Linked DNA regions of Homo sapiens: regions 1 and 2 are each linked to region 3. The links are contacts of gene promoters, found by promoter capture Hi-C in human tissues and cell types (Jung and others, 2019). All regions are on one chromosome and are shown on one strand. Each heading gives the region's core, a stretch centred on a gene start or on the middle of the fragment in contact. The rest is flanking DNA. Distances are from core to core; before and after follow the strand shown.

What was found. Contacts are between HindIII fragments. The study calls those that stand out against the background at their distance.
Region 1: a fragment that was not itself captured here is called in contact with the fragment with the promoter of S100P in region 3 in 1 of the 25 tissues and cell types used here (spleen).
Region 2: a contact is called between a fragment that was not itself captured here and the fragment with the promoter of S100P in region 3, in 1 of the 25 tissues and cell types used here (spleen).

The regions. Positions count from the first base shown.
Region 1 is chr4:6,937,752-6,940,451 of GRCh38, forward strand. The region is part of intron 2 of TBC1D14 (TBC1 domain family member 14); the gene reads left to right. Among named protein-coding and RNA genes, the nearest start is that of TBC1D14, 29 kb to the left of the region's middle. RefSeq lists a silencer at 1,086-1,135 and enhancers at 1,849-2,426, 2,427-2,700, 2,568-2,697. The HindIII fragment of the contact is 7,774 bases long and covers 1-2,700 here.
Region 2 is chr4:6,832,268-6,834,967 of GRCh38, forward strand. All of the region lies in intron 3 of KIAA0232, which reads left to right. Among named protein-coding and RNA genes, the nearest start is that of KIAA0232, 51 kb to the left of the region's middle. The HindIII fragment of the contact is 7,001 bases long and covers 1-2,700 here.
Region 3 is chr4:6,692,604-6,695,303 of GRCh38, forward strand. S100P (S100 calcium binding protein P) reads left to right here and starts at 1,275. Exons shown (of 2, transcript NM_005980.3): 1 at 1,275-1,467. The coding sequence starts at 1,330. RefSeq lists enhancers at 1-496, 806-1,542, 1,543-2,278. The HindIII fragment of the contact is 18,883 bases long and covers 1-2,700 here.

The DNA.
Region 1 (2,700 bases), core at 165-2,664, 250 kb after region 3:
AGGGTGATTACATTGGGGCATGGATTCTCCGGGCGGTGGAAGGAGGGTGGATTAGAGAAGCAGGATGGAGACCCTGAAGCCTGGAGGGTAGTGGGGGGTCGTCACCGTGTGGGCGGGGAGGCTCCAGTCACACAGCCGGCTGGGAGTGGAACCTGCAGGGTCAGTTTCCACCACGTCTGACGTAGGCTCCCCCCGGGGCCGTTGCATTGCTGATTGAGCCGCATCTGGTGAGCCTGGTCCAGGAGTGTTGGAGAAAGGAAGTGGAGGTCTTCATTCCACTCCTCCCGGGTGCTGGGTGGGGAGAGGGAGGCAGCAGTGCCGTCCCGGGCGTTGTGGTGGTGGGCGCTACTTTGCTGGGCTGGCCTTGCCGAGACACAGCTTCTTCCCATGGTGTAAGAGCCTCCCCATTTGTGAACAGCACCCCATCCTCAGGGAGAGCTTGTCTGGGGGAGGACCGTGGGGATCAGCCCTGACTGTTGGCTGTGCAGATCCCTCTTCTGGGGGCTGCCTGGTGGCCCCAGTGCTAGGAGCTGCATGAGACAGTGGTGCCATGCTCGGCCACCCTGCCCTTGGGTGGACATAACCTCACATGCTCCTCTGGAGAGGGCCAGGCCAGGATAGCAAGGGGGGAAGTCAATGCCAAGAGGAAACATCTGGGAGGAACAGGGATCGTGGTCACACGAGCGTGAGGCGCCACTTCCTCTTCTTCAGTCCTTGGCCCTCTCCAGGGGATCCCAGCCTCACTCCCAGCTGGCTGCCCACAGCAGGTGTCCCCTTGGCCTTCCCACCAGGCACCAGCCTGGCAGCTCCCCCTCCCCAGGACCAGGTCTGCAGAGAGGTGGGGCTCGCTCATTCAGGGACGCCTTCTCACTGCTTCTCTGAGGATCCACATCCCTAGATCATTTCTGCAGATGTTTAGCCACTGCCAGGAAGCCCTCTCCAGCCTCCATGAGAGGACCAGCCTTGCCTCGCGGGCCTTCTGTGTGCCTCGTGGATCCCGCATTCACCCAGGGGGCACAGGAGAGATGCCGGGGTGAGCATGTCTGTCACCACAGCTGTGCAGGGGCTGTGGCTCGGGCTGGCCTCCCAGGGGCCCAGTGTTCCATTGTTTCAGGTCATTGGGTTCCTCCCCTGCAGCCGCACTCTGAAGAGTATCCGTCCCGGCTGCAGGAGTGGAGATCTGGTTGTGCAGTAGTGCAGCAGCGGCGCCATCCCCCAGGCTCTGTGGGCTGGCCTGAGTGCTGCATGGGAAAGCACCGTGGACACCATGGGGAAGAGATGCTAGTGAAACCCTCTCCGGCTCAGCCGGTGGCCTCTTCCTCATCAGCAGTGGACGGCATCCTGGCTCTGCCACCCACTCCCTCTGCATCTGGGGCAAGTCGCTTTGCAGACACAGCTTTCCCACGTGTGAAATGCAGAGTTGCGTCAGGCGGTCTCGGCATCTTCCAGCAGGAAGAACCTTCTGGAATCAGCAGTAGTCCCTGCTGTCCTCCTGCAGGCCTGGAGACCCCTCCTGGAATGGTTTTCCTGCCTGCCTCTTCCTGCTGCATAAATGAGAAGAATCCACAGGAGCCCCCCCCAGGAAGAATGGCCCCCTTTGCTGTGTGTCGACTCCCAGCTCTGTGGCTGGGGCACCTCTCATGCGCAATGCCACCCGACCAGGTCCCCCCCAGAAGCATGCGCACCCCTCGAGGGACTGCCTCTCACTTATTGTACGCTGGTGCTCATTAGAACTCAGCAAGTGCTTGCCAGATGGTTGAATTCAGACGTCATCCCTTTTCTTAGAGATTATCTGCCCGAGGACCCGGTCCTGGGGATGTAGTGGTCAGCATACCTGCGTCAGTCTTGGGGATGTAACGGTCAACACACCCACTTCTCCCAAATCAAAGCACCCAACGGCAAGATAGTCGACTGAGACCACACTGCAGAGACTGATAAGGGATGCTCAGTGCCAGGCTGTGAGTCCTGTGGCAGAGTTCCTGAGGAGAGGGGTGGGGGTGGGGTGGTGGTGTGGAGGTGGCATGGGAAAGCTGGGAGAGGCTCCACTTTACACAGGGGGGTCAGGGAGGGCTTTGGTGGGAAAGCAGCATTTGAGCAAAGATGTGAGTGGTGTGCGGGTGAAGCGTGTTCTTCCGAAGGACACAGTGGAGACGAAGGCCCTGAGGCCGGCGGGGACTGGCCTTGCTTTTCAGGCGTCACGACCTACACCAGGCTCCTTGAGAAATGGGCACCAGCGGCCTGTGCCCCTGGCTCCCGCGGCACCTCACGCATGCTCAGCAGAGTCATCCCTTTTGGCTGCCTGGAGTCGTATATTGGGGCGCAGCTGGTGCTTTAGTTACTAGAATATCAAACTGCCGTCCAGTGTGTTAGCCACTAGCCCCATGTAGCTATTTAAATTGAGTTAAAATTACCCGAAATGGAAAATTCAGTTTCTTAGTCACTCTGGCCAGTCAGGCGCTCAGTAGCCACATGTGGCTTGTGGCCACCCCGTTGGGCGGCTCAGATTAGTACATTTCCACCATGCAGGAAGTTCTGTTGTTCAGCCCTGGTCTGTGGGACAATCTGTGACTTGAACCTTTGTTGTTCTTGATGTGTAACAGCAGCACACAGTGGGTGTGAAACGAGCAAATCCATAATGGAATGTGTGTAGCCCAGAGAGGTCTACAGAAAGAACCGCCCTCAGGGCTCCGGGGAAGGGGA
Region 2 (2,700 bases), core at 187-2,686, 140 kb after region 3:
TTTTTATTACCTGAAATTATATGATTACTTGTGATTTAATTATGTCTCCCCTACTGGCATATGTAATTCATGAAGTTGGGGCCTTTTTTTTTTTTTTTGGAGAGGGACTCTTGCTGTGTTGCCTAGGCTGGAGTGTAGTGGCGTGATCTCGGCTCACTGCAACCTCCACCTCCCAGGTTCAAGCGATTCTCCTGCCTCAGCCACCCGAGTAGCTGGCATTACAGGCGCCCACCACCACACCTGGCTAATTTTTGTATTTTTAGTAGAGATGGGGTTTCACCATGTGGGCCAGGCTGGTCTCGAGCTCCTGACCTCAAGTGATCTGCCTGCCTTGGCCTCCCAAAGTGCTGGGATTACAGAAGTGAACCACCACGCCCAGCCAGAGTTGGGGACCTTTTCTGCTATGTTTTCTGTTGGATTCCCAGCCCTTAAAACAGTTCCTGGAATATACAAGAGGCTCAGATACGTATTAGACAAATGGATAGCCACATGTTTCTTTCTCAGGTCTGTGACTTGTGTGTAGGAGGGAAGCATGCTAGGAGTGGGTGTAGACCCCATAATCACACACTGGGGCCTGCCCTGCAGAGAAGTTACTGTTGCTTGTTTTAAATCCCCTAATCAAATTGTATCTACTAGCTCAGAGTCCATCCTTCTAGAAATGTAACTGGATTATTACATTATCTGTATTTGCCCACAGGTTGTATAAATAATAATCCCAGTCCTGAGTGCTAGGTGAGACTCATCCCTTCTTCATTCAACAGACCTTATTTGCTCCTTCAGCCTATTTGTAACATACTCCTGTAGCGTGTCCCGTTCAGCATTACGCTTCTTGAAAAGCTAGCATCTGCGGTGTTTCCTGTTACAGTTTATTAGAATCTTTAACAATAGGAACTGTAAAAGTCTGACCATAAAGCGCTCCTCGTGTGTGTCACTGCATACACTGTATTTCAACAAACATTCAACAGACTTTAATTAAATAACCTTCTACATCACAAGCATTGTTATTTGCATTTAAACAACACTTCCTATTTTTATTCTCTTATTTCAAATCAGCATTTCAGAGCTCCAGGAAGAAAGCCAGGAGTATCTTTCTAGAACCTTCCCTATCCCTGAAAACTTCCTAAGAATTATTCCATGCTATTACTTGAGCCCAGGAGTTTGAAACTAGCCTGGGCAACATGGAGAAACCCTGTCTCTACAAATAATACAAAAATTAGCCAGGCATGGTGGTGTGTGCCTGTAGTCTCAGCTGCTCGGGAGGCTGAGGTTGGAGGATCACCTGAGCCCAGGGAGGTCGAGGCTGCAGTGAGCCATGATTGTGTCACTGCACTCCAGCCTAGGCAACAGAGTGAGACTGCATCTCAAAAAAAGGAAAAAAAGAAAAAAAAAGGAAGAAGAAAGTGTTCATGCTACTGATGGAAGAGTATATACATGCCAGTATTCACTTTGACTCCCATAGTGACAAAAACCTTTCTGGGTAGTAGGTATGAAATAGCATATACATCACTGGATAATTCATGAAGAATTAAGCAGGAGATATCAGAAGGGTTATAGGGTGAAAAAACTTGTACTACTGACCCAGACCAAAAGTTCCTTTAATACCACCTTGACTTTTATCCCAAGTGACTTTCAGACCTGCAGTCTCCTGTTCTCTCTTTCCCTTTTGAGATTTCCCCCGCTTACTGTAAGTCAGTATCACATTGTTAAGAACATAGGCCTTGGAATCTGAAGACCTGTGTTCTAACCCCACCTTCTTCACTTTCCAACTTAGACCACTGACTTGGACAAGTTAACATCTCTGTGCCTGACTCTCCATTTCTTTTCTTATTATTATTATTATTTTAGAGATAGGGTCTTGCTTTCGCCCAGGCTGGAGTGCAGTGTTTCTCAGAGCTCACTGAGCCTCGAACTCTTGGGCTCAAGGGTCCTCCTGTCTCAGCCTTCCAAGTAGCTGGCACTACAGCTGTCTTTTCATTTATAAATTGTACAAATTATGTGCATATCTAATATCGTTACTGAGGATTAAAGGAGATTCATTTATTGACCATATAGGTGCCAGGCATCATTTTATGTACTGATAATATAGTTAGAGGAATACTAGACACAAAGTAAGTGCTCAGTAAATATTGACAACTATTGCTATTATTGTTGCTATTCATACAAATATTTCCTTCAAATAGTTATTTTCCTATTAACTACTCCTCTTCTAGCAGGTAGGCTAATGCATTTGTTAGAGGCAAAGATAAGCTGCTGATACAGTATTTCCAACATTTACCCTAACAATCTCAATTTGAAATATTTAGCCCTGCCATATATCCTAATTATGCATTCAGCAAACATGGTCACTATAATATTTCTGGATGTAATTATTACCTTTGACACAATTGGGTCCCTTGAAAAGGTGTTCTTTAAGACTGACAAATTCCAGTGGCAATTACTCTTATTTTTTGTGACATGATGACCAGGTTAAAAAAATAATAAATTTTAAGAAACTAAAGTAAAAATCTTTTGATGGTACATATAGATAGAATGAACCTGGATTTGTTCACTGTAAAAGTTATAATGGGAGGGGTAGGGGTGGTTCTCTTGAGTTTAAAAGAGAGTTGTTTAGCACAAAAGAAATACTTTTATTTGTGGTAAGAGTGTTGTTGCCCAAGAAACTGCCCCAAAACTTAGTAGCATTAAAACAACAACAACAAC
Region 3 (2,700 bases), core at 25-2,524:
TTTGAGTGTGGGCCTACTTTGACCGGGGCAGGATGTGAACACAGGCCCCTACCTCCATGCTCTCCAGGACTCGCTCAGCCTCCCAAGCACAGACCCTCTGAGTACCTCCGCTATAGAGACGGGGAGGGGTGTGACTGTCCCTGACTCTGCCCAGAGTCCCAGGAGCCTTTGTGCCGTCTAAGCCCTGTGGGTGATTTGGGTTTGGTAAGTGCCGGGGCTCAAAAAACAACACCCCAACGTGGAAGCCTCAGAAACAAAAGTTTCTCTGTCCTGCTCCCACCCTCCTGTCTCCAGCTCCTCCTCCTCTGAGAGGCTTCCCCAAACCCTGCCATAAAACCCAGAAATATGACTCCAGTTCTCCACTCCCTCCCCTTTCTGTGTAGAAACCAGCCTAAAGAAACCCTCTGGCCTGCTTTATTTGACTGTAGGTCATAAGAGCTCCATTCCAGAAAGAGTCCTGCCCCACACCTAGAAGGAAGGAGAGCTGCTCAGAGAGGCCCCAGGGAATCTGACTCAACAGGCCCTACCAGGCTCTCCTCTTGGTCTGTGAGCATCCAGCCTTACTTTTGTATCCAATCATATTTCCATACTTCGCTGAACTGTGTTTATGGATAGTTTCCACCAGATCTTTGGATCTTCATCTTGAAGGCTGCCGTGCCACATAAGCTATGATCAAATACATCTGTTATGCTCTTCTCCTATTCATCTGCCTTCTGCCCGTTGATTTTCAGCAAACTCCCAGAGGATGAAGGGGAGTTTTCTGTTTGGCCCCACAGGGGAGGAGCGAGCGAGATTGACGTGGAAGCTGGGCCTCTGAAGGACACAGAGTGCTCTAAGAAAGGGACGATGGGGCAGATCCATGTTCACAAACACGCCCATGTGAATTCACTCTCAGATGTCTCCTCGTGTCAGCACGCTGGGTGCCAGCACGCTCTGATATTGACACAAAGGGCCACGGAGTCACCACTCACTCCACACACACTCACCCCGTGCCCACTTACCCAGGGAGGGCCAGGAATGAGGATGCCACTGTGGCTCAGTGATGGCGCCGAGACACAGGTGAACACTGTAAAATGTGGATGCCTGGAGGCAGCCCACACCCTGGGCCTTGGCTGGGGGAAAGGTTCCAGAAACGTCATCACAACGATGCATTTCATCAGAACTGAGCACATGAATGGGGAGGGGCAGGACTTCCTGAATGTCCCAACCCCACTGTCCCACCCTCTGTGTCAATATGAGGCTGCCTTATAAAGCACCAAGAGGCTGCCAGTGGGACATTTTCTCGGCCCTGCCAGCCCCCAGGAGGAAGGTGGGTCTGAATCTAGCACCATGACGGAACTAGAGACAGCCATGGGCATGATCATAGACGTCTTTTCCCGATATTCGGGCAGCGAGGGCAGCACGCAGACCCTGACCAAGGGGGAGCTCAAGGTGCTGATGGAGAAGGAGCTACCAGGCTTCCTGCAGGTGAGCCAGGCCGGCAGTGCTGGACTCAGCGGGGGCTGGGGAAGAAGGGGAAGGCGTGGCAGGCAGAGGGCTGAGAGCTGCGGTGGGGTCGGCGGTCAAGGGGCTCAGAGGCAAGAGGGACAGATCCTGAAATGCCCTGGAAGCCCAGCCAAGGAACGGACCCACCCTGGCATAAAGGCAGGGGAGGCGGGAGCATCTGAGCAGGGAGAGGGTGTGGTCAGCTTGATCCTTGAAACATGGGGTTGACCCCAGTGTATTTGTGACAGGCCTGGTGGGAGAGTGGGACTCAAACCTGTGCAGTGGGGGCAGGGGCGGAATGCAATCCAGGGCTGCCATTTGCAAGTTTGCCAAGCTTGCCAAGCCCTTGAGCCCTCGGGGCTGTCCTCCAAGGCTGCCGGCCATAAACGCCCCAGCTCTGCCTCCCACTTGCCCGCTTTCCCTGCTCCCATTCCCAGGCCCCTTGTTGCCTGGTATTAGTGGGTCTGGCAGGAAGGACGGGAGGAGGCTCCATCCTGGCACCTGTCTGCGCAGAGCTGTGGACCTCCCTTGGGCTCCCTGCCAGGGAGGAGCCACCGGCCTGAGCCTCACAGAAGGCCCCTCAGGGCGGCCAGGACCAGCTTCCTTCCGCCCGGGGCAGCCTCCGGCTGGGCTGAACAGAAGCCGTACCCTCTCCATTTCCCCTTCCCTTTGACCCCTGTCCTCTCCTTCTTTCTCACTCCCCCACTTTCTTCCTTCCTTCCCCTCCCCTTCGGGCCCCACCAGACTCTGCCTACCTGCTAAGGGGCTAACCCACATAGATGCTGATAATCAAAAATGAAAGCCTGAAATTTTCAGCCCTAGAATCACTTCAAAGACATGAAACACTTCAGAATATTGCTTCTATTTTCTTTTCTTTTCTTTTTTTTTTTTTTTGAGACAAGATGTCACTCTGTCACCCAGGCTGGAGTGCAGTGGCAGGATCACGGCTCACTGCAGCCTCGACCTCCCTGGGCTCAGGTGATCCTCCCACCTCAGCCTACCGAGTAGCTGGGACTACAGGTGCATGTCACCATACCCGGTTAATTTTTGTATTTTTTTTAGAGACAAGGTCTCACCATGTTGCCCAGGCTGGTCTCAAACTCCTGTGCTCAGGCAATGCGTCAGCCTCGACATCTCAAAGTGCTGTGATTACAGGCGTGAGCCCCGACACCTGGCCTAGTTCTATTTTCTAAATGTGAATTCTGTAAAGATATC